2 separate regions of the Homo sapiens genome follow, and region 2 is linked to region 1. The links are contacts of gene promoters, found by promoter capture Hi-C in blood cells and fetal thymus (Javierre and others, 2016). All regions are on one chromosome and are shown on one strand. The core of a region is centred on a gene start or on the middle of the fragment in contact, and the rest is flanking DNA. Distances in the headings are between cores, read along the strand shown. Region 1 holds the start of GKN2 (gastrokine 2). Region 2 has its middle 34 kb from the start of DNAAF10.

The links. The method cuts DNA at HindIII sites, captures the fragments that hold promoters and counts their contacts. A CHiCAGO score of 5 or more calls a contact.
Region 2: a fragment that was not itself captured here is called in contact with the fragment with the promoter of GKN2 in region 1 in 1 of 17 cell types (activated CD4 T cells); the score reaches 5.6 in activated CD4 T cells.

Annotation. Positions count from the first base shown.
Region 1 is chr2:68,951,437-68,955,190 of GRCh38, reverse strand. GKN2 (gastrokine 2) reads left to right here and starts at 2,298. Exons shown (of 6, transcript NM_182536.3): 1 at 2,298-2,341. The coding sequence starts at 2,330. The HindIII fragment of the contact is 766 bases long and covers 1,694-2,459 here.
Region 2 is chr2:68,121,340-68,125,413 of GRCh38, reverse strand. It overlaps the pseudogene PPIAP64. Among named protein-coding and RNA genes, the nearest start is that of DNAAF10, 34 kb to the left of the region's middle. RefSeq lists enhancers at 2,683-2,977, 3,826-3,905, 3,916-4,074. The HindIII fragment of the contact is 3,787 bases long and covers 777-4,074 here.

The DNA.
Region 1 (3,754 bases), core at 1,049-3,548:
TTGGACTTAATGTCGGAAGGCCTGAGGGAGAGTTATTTTTGCCAGAAACTATATACTAACTATATACGATCCTAGGCAAATTCCTTAACCTGTTTGGCTCTTAGCTTCCTTGTAAGAGGTTTAGATGAGACTTGAAACAGCGTTCAATCTGAATAACCCACGGAAGTTTTAGACCTACTACGTCAGGGTATCCAAAGGTGGGCACCGTCAGCACCAGGCCCTTCCAGGTCAGCAATTTCACTCCCTCGGCGGGGAGCTGGGAGTGAAGACAGGAATTTCATTCATAACAACGTTTACAAGCACCACTTCTCATTTTAGTTTTCACTCCTGAGTTGTGGGTGGGCCTGACAGTTTCCAAGTCTATCTTTCAGTTAGGGAGCATTCTGGAAGCAGAAGCCTCCTTGCTAATGCTCCTGTCTCAGCAAGGCAAGGAGAGGCTGTATCATTTTCAGAATTAAGAGTGTGGACTCTGGAGTTAAATTGGGCTCAGATCCCAAACACTGCCTTTCGAAGCTGTGTGATCTCAAAGAGTTACTTAACTTCCCTGCACCTTGGTTTTCCTACCTGTAAAATGGAACAGGTTAGAAGGTAACTTCTAGAGTTGATATGAGAATCAGATGAATCAATATATCCGAAGTGTTTGGAAAGTGTTGAAACATATTGAGTGCTCTACAAACACTAGCAACAATCATTATTAGACTATAGAACCAGAACTCCTGAGGACGGGAGGGGGACATGGTAGAGGATAGCATGTGATACTTTCATTAGCCCTAATGTCTATGGGCATTGCTGGTTTGCTTTTTTGAGTCTCTGAAGCCAGATATGAGAGAAAATTTGCAGGTGCCTTAGAAAACTGTAATCCTTTCTGCAGCTACTATCTGAGAAAGATTTAATAAAGCTGCGTGTTTTACATCCACCCCCACTGAACAGCCAGGGTAGGGAGATTCCAGTGAACTAGGTAACCCTTAACTTGCCCAGATGTCTACTTTTTGAGAACCCCATTTTTGTTTAAAGCTGCTAAAGTTAGAAAGTTGTTTCAGCTATAGAACAAGGCCATTATTTATGTTATCTCTTTGTTTACTGTGGTGATTCTCAATATTTTACAATTTTGCAATTTACTGGGGTTTTTTGTTTTGTTTTGTTTTGAGATGGAATCTTGCTCTATCACCCAGGCTGGAGTGCAGTGGCATGATCTTGGCTCACTGCAACCTCTGCCTCCCGGGTTCAAGCAATTCTCCTGCCTCAGCCTCCTGAGTAGCTGGGACTACAGGCGAGCACCATCACGCCTGGCTAATTTTTTTGTACTTTTAGTAGAGACGGGGTTTCACCATAGTAGAGACGGGGTTTCACCATGTTGTCCAGGCTGGTCTCAAACTTCTGACCTCAGGTGATCTGCCCGCCTTGGCCTCCCAAATTGCCGGGGTTACAGGCATGAGCCACTGCGCCCAGCCGCAGTTTATTGTTTTTGTTGTTGTTGTTGTTTGTTTTGTTTTTAAATTTCCCTTCCTGAGTTCATGATTATACCCTGACACTAACTAGCCATTTCTAATTGTCATGTTAAAAAAATTACACAAATTAAACTTTATTCTCTTTCTCTCTCTTTTTTTTTTTTTTCAATCTAAGAATTTCTTAATACTCTGCAAGATAACTAGAGGTCTCTAACTTACAGTTTTGTGCAGTTTTGGGCGAAGCTTAATGTAAAAATTTGGTTAAACTTGGTAATTGGGGAGAATGCTTTCTGAGTCTTGTTCCTCATTAATTTCTGGAAATTGACACCAAATCTAAAGGGAAGAACGAAGAAAGTCCTAGGCTGTTTGTTCTCCAAGCAGGCCTCCCCAGCCACTGTCTTGGCACCCCGTCTCATATCCGTTCCCTCTGTGGAAGAATTCAGCCAGCAGAACAGTGGTGAAAAGACATTGAGTTGGGGCCCAACTCAGGCCTTAAGGAAGCACTCTTCCTTTAGGAGGAGATGTTAGAAGTTTGTCCTTGTAGAGCTATAAAATGTATGCATAGAACAAGCATCATGCAATATTTTTAAAGGGTGGAAATTAAAATGTCAAGTGCAGCATAGTACAAATAGCAGGGAATATTTACAGAGTGACCAAGTGGTGAATTTTCATTACTGACTAATGAACTTCATTGATATCAGGTATGTGGTTGGATCTCAATTCTGATAAAGGAGTTTGCTAGGGTGTGTCAGAGATATAGACATGGTCTTTTCCAAAGTGATCATTTGAAAAAGAGATATCCACATCTTCAAGCCCATATAAAGGATAGAAGCTGCACAGGGCAGCTTTACTTACTCCAGCACCTTCCTCTCCCAGGCAAAATGAAAATACTTGTGAGTATTTGTTTCTGCTTCTTGATACTCTTGTGGTGACTGCTTGCAGACAATGCTCATATCTAATATGCCATGGATTTTGGGAGTCTTAGACAGATACTGTGCATGCTTCTAAGCTTCTGTGATTGAATTAATGACATCTTTGGCAGAAATAGTGTTGAATAAGTCTGACTTTTTTTGTCCTTTTCCTGTTTTGAGATGTTTACTTAAAAGAAAATTCAAAAATACAAAGAAATCTCTAGATAATTTTGATTTGGAGGATGTTTAATAATAATCCTTTATTATGAGCTTCATAGGGAATTTGGGCTATTTAAAACAACTACATTTGCTATCTAAGAGAGAAGCTGTAGTTTAAAAATAATATCAGTAATAGTAATAATAGTACCTCTCATTTCTCAAATGCATACTAAGCCTTAGACTAAGCATATCACATGAATAATTTCATCTATTCATTGCAACAACCCTATGAGTTGAGTAGTATTCTCCCCGTTTTACAGATAAGGAGACTGAGAGGCAGAGGAATGTGATTTTCCCAAGCCCGTAAATGTGGGATTTAGAATGTAATTTATCCATCTGAATCCCCACTTGCAGGCGCAATCATGGCAAATTTAAGCAGCCAGAGTGTCTTCAATGTCCTCTCATTATGACTAAATTCTCCCTTAGGACAAAACGTTCCTTCTATGGCCACTCCACCCCTCCATCTGATCCCAGCCTCCGTAGTTCCACATTGCAGTGCCCCATGGACAGTGGGCTATGTTCTGACCTAGAATGGAATTCGCTCCCCTAGTCTCTGTCCTTTATTCTCATTCAGCTGCTAAGGGAGAAAGCAAAATGTTAAGTACCTCTTTCTAAAGTGTTAAAGACTATCAGCTTAAAGAGCTCCCTCTCTCAGGGCTGTCTTGATTTTCCAAATTGAGACCTAACCCTGAAGCACAAAAGTATTATATAACCATGGTGTATTAACCACAGTGTTGGAAGGGAGATCATTTTGGGGCAGAGGACACTCCCCAAGCTCTCTCTAATCATACCATTAAAGTGGTTTAGTCCTTCGACTACTTGTTCAAACCACTATTTTAGACTCATTAACTAGAATATACGGGAGTATCATATGTTGCTGGAGCTGGTCTGTGGTAAGAGAAGATGTATCCCTATGGAAGGCTGAATATCAGCACACAGGTCTTTGTTAGATGCTCTACTCCCAGTCCCCAGAAGAGAAATATTAAGGGTGGGATGGAAAGGGAAGTAGGAAAGTCCCACTGACAGTTCTTAAAAATATCCCCCTTCCCCAAGACTCCTTTCATCAGCAGTTTTCAAATGACAGTGCAGTCAACTATGTACTGATGTAGTTTTCAGCGATAGTACAGTTCACTGATGTTCAGAAGAGAGGGTACAAAACCTGGGTTAGCATGTTGG
Region 2 (4,074 bases), core at 1,421-3,920, 830 kb after region 1:
AACCCTTATACCCAAATCCTTTCTCTCCAGTGCTCAGAGCACAGAAGTTTTCTGCTGTCTTTGGAATCTTGTCTGCAAACAGCTTGATGGAGATGCGGCCCAAGGGCTCACTGTCGATGGCAATTTCTAAGAACACGGTGGAGTTGACCACGCTGGTAGTACAGGGCTTCCGGTGGCGTTGGCATCTGCTAGCTATGTTTTTTTAAAAGGCAGGTTGGTTATGCTTACCCAGGAAACCTCTATCTCCGAATGTCTGGCCACTCTCACTGTGTTGTGGAGCCCCACCTCCCTGCTTTGGATGAGACTAGACTGCCAGGCGCCATTCTCAGGGCCATACCCAGCAGTCCCAATAAAACGGGGCTTAATGCTGCTCTGAGAGCTTGGGGGCACTGGGCCCATGCTGCACTCAGACTTATCAGGACCTGCTAACAGAAGTCCTGTGCATTGTCCAACCAGCTGAGGACTCAGGGCTGCTAGGACAATGTCCTCTATTATTCCACCCTAAGTACCTGCATATTGCCTGGAGTGGTGAGAAATTCTTTACTCATCCATTTTCCCTACTGGGTCTAGGATGGACAAATGGCAGTATGAAAACTGTGAATCTTTGTTACTGTGTAGGGATCTAGAGGCTAAACCCTTGTCCTCAACCCCAGAACCAGAAAAATGGTTATTAATCAGGACAGCACAGTGAAAGCAGATGCAGATTATCCTCACAGTGCATGGCCATTAATGCAGTTGTCCATAGGTTTTGTATATTTTACATCAAACATCAAGCTTGAATGAAGGAACAGGATTTTGACTTTGTGTTTTTAACTTGAAGCATGAGATTCTAGGTAAAAGGGCTGTGACCAAGTACAGCTGCATTTATACAGTCATGGTGGAGGAATTTTATGAAGGATTCTTTAACAACTGAACTTTGCTTATGGTGTTCTGATCCAACTCTATCCCTAAGCCAACTTAAAACCAGATCACTCAGCAATACCCTTTATACAACACTTTTTTATTTTAATTGAGACTGAGTCTTGCTCTGTCACCCAGGAAGAGTGCAGTGGCGTGATCTTGGCTCACTGTAACCTCCGCCTCCTGGGTTCAAGCACTTCTCCCACCTCAGCCTCCCAAGTAGCTGGGATTACAGGCATGTGCCACCACGCGCAGTTAATTTTTTTTATTTTTAGTAGGGATGGGGTTTCGCCATGTTGGCCAGGCTGGTCTCAAACTCCTCACCTCAAGTGATCTGCCTGCCTCGGCCTCCCAAAGTGCTGGGATTATAGGCATGAGCCACTGCCCCTGGCCCCTTAATACAACATTTAATAAATGTTGGGCCAGGCGCAGTGGCTTACGCTTGTAATCCTAGCACTTTGGGAGGCCAGGAGTTCAAGACCAGCCTGGGCAACATAGTGAGACACTGTCTCTACAGAAAATTTTTTTTTTAAATTAGCTGGGTGTGGTAGCACAGCTTATAGTCCCAGCTGCTTGGGAGGCTGAGGCAGGAGGATCACTTGAGCCAAGGAGGTTGAAGCTGCAGTGAGTGGTGACTGTGTTACTGCACTCCAGCCTGGGGAAAATGAGAGACCCTGTCTCAAAAATAAATAAATAAATAAAAGCAAATGTTGGTGGGTGATTAAAATGATAAAATAATGATAAAACAAGTAATTAGGAAAAAAAAGTCCATCTTAACCTCTGGCCTGTTTTTTGAAGGCATTGTTGTTGATTAGGGTTAGGTTCAGCTGCGGGTAACTGAAAACCCAAAATAAAGATTACGCATTATCCAGTGTGCCTGTTCCAGTTGAACCATCACATCCACATTCCAGACATCAGAAAAGTAGGAAAAGTAAGAAAAAGAACATCTTGCACTTTGAAGAGCACTTTTGCTTGTATCCATTGGTGATGATTTGGTCCTGTGTCTCGGTCTCACCTATCACAGTGAGACCGAGAAGCATAAACCTGATTGTGTGCAGTGTTATACCCGGCTACCATTTGGGAGTTCTGGTCCTGAGGAAGTAGGGAAATGGATGTTGGGAGGTGTAACTGGATTCTGCCGCCCTGACAGAGCCGTCAAGCACGGCCTCCCTGGCTGCGTCCTCCCATGAGGTGAAAACTAGGGCGCTACCAATGCGTGCTTCCTTAGGCCAGATCTGGGTCTTGGCACCCAATACTCCCTTTTGGCAATTGTATCTTCTCCATCAGCTCTTGTAAACCAGACACCATGGAATCCCTTGGTTTTTTAAGTTACTTTTATTATCCTTTATGTGCACCAATGCAAGCCCAGCCCAGTACAAAAACAGGAAAGGAAAACTCCCCCTACACACTCAAATTGATCTTCATACTACATTTCTTTTCTTGGGAATTTGTTTGTACTTAATAATAACTTCTTTCGAATCCCAAATACCTTTTCCACTCAGGGGCAGTACAAAGTCACGCGCAGTAGAACATGAACGGCGCAGCTTACCTCATGCGTGTCCATAAACTCACCAAAGGAACTTGAAGGGAGAACAGTGTCTTTATGATCCGGCGTGTCTTGGTACCTGCTTAAAGTCACTTTTGCTTGTGATTTAGCTGGATACACTTTGCATATATACATGAAAAATAATTTTTTTTCTGGGAATGTCTAAGGACTATCCAACACACAAAATGATTTCATCCTTTTCTGAATGAGAACAGCCCGAAAGTTTCTGGCAAATACGCAGGGTTCGTGAGATATGAAATTCAATTATGTCGTGGTACATAAGGTCCGCCTCTTCACGACTTTCAGTGGATTTTCTTCCCCTGGGAAGGAGGCCCCTCAGCCGCACGTTCCGAATCCCAGGCCGTCCTTGTACCTGAAGACCCAGTGGTGCGCTGCCCCCTTGTGGGAGATGTGGGCATTGCAGACCTTTCAACACAAGGAAACGGAATTTGTCTTTCAAATGCAGCTGGAAAAATCTATCCTGTTTAATTCCCAGGAGGCACGCAAGCCAAACTGGACCTTGAGAAAGACATTATCTTACAGAAATGTCTTCCAAAAATGTGATTGTGTTTATGAAGAAAACCCACTTTGTATATAACAACACTGCATAGCATGCCTATGCTTCTTTTTACAGAATGGGTTTTTTAACCAAAAGTTGGATCATTAGCTTTATTATAGATTCAGTCTTACTGGTAGCATCACAAGGCTAACTTCCAAGAGAAAATATTTGGCTTTTTATAAAGTGAGGAATTATTTTGTAAAGTAAATAGTACATGCCTCTATCTCCTACCAACCGTTTATTCTGTAAATTCTGATTTTAACGAAGCATTTCTCAGAGTAAGGACTTCTTTATACCATCACTTAACTTCCTGCAGGAATTCTAGAATTTCTCTCCATCTTCTTTGCACCAGATCCAATGTTTTGTTTTGTTTTGTTTTGTTTGAGACAGAGTTTTGCTCTTGTTGCCCAGGCTGGAGTGCAATGGCACGATCTCAGCTCACTGCAACCTCCGCCTCCTGGGTTCAAGCGATTCTCCTGACTCAGCCTCCCAAGTAGCTGAGATTACAGGCGCCCACCACCACGCCCGGCTAATTTTTGTATTTTTAGTAGAGACGGGGTTTCTCCATGTTGATCAGGCTGGTCTCGAACTCCTGACCTCGAGTGATCCGCCTGCCTCGGCCTCCCAAAGTGCTGGGATTACAGGCATGAACCACCGTGCGCAGCCATATAGCCACTGTTTTTAAAAGCCATTTCTGCACTACCAAGTTAGTGAGTAGCAGCCCTCCACCTGCCCACCTTTGGCGTATGGACCATGCAGCTAAAAGAAGCAACACAAAATAAACTGTGGTCAAAAGAGACTCACAGTTCTCCCTCACACCGGAGGCTGAAGACACTCACACTTCCTCCTTTTAAGTCTTCAACTTTTCTTCTTTATGACACCCAAGGCTTTCATGGCCAGTCAGAACGTCAGTGCCAGAAGAGGCCTTTGAGACCTCTGCACTCAATTTCTGCATTTGAAGACAGACCCAGGCCCTCATCTCCTGACCCCTCATCCAGTGATATTCTCCTGCACCTCCCTGAGGAGTTGCTCAACACTCTGATCCCTCCGAGAAGCCTGGGGTACCTCT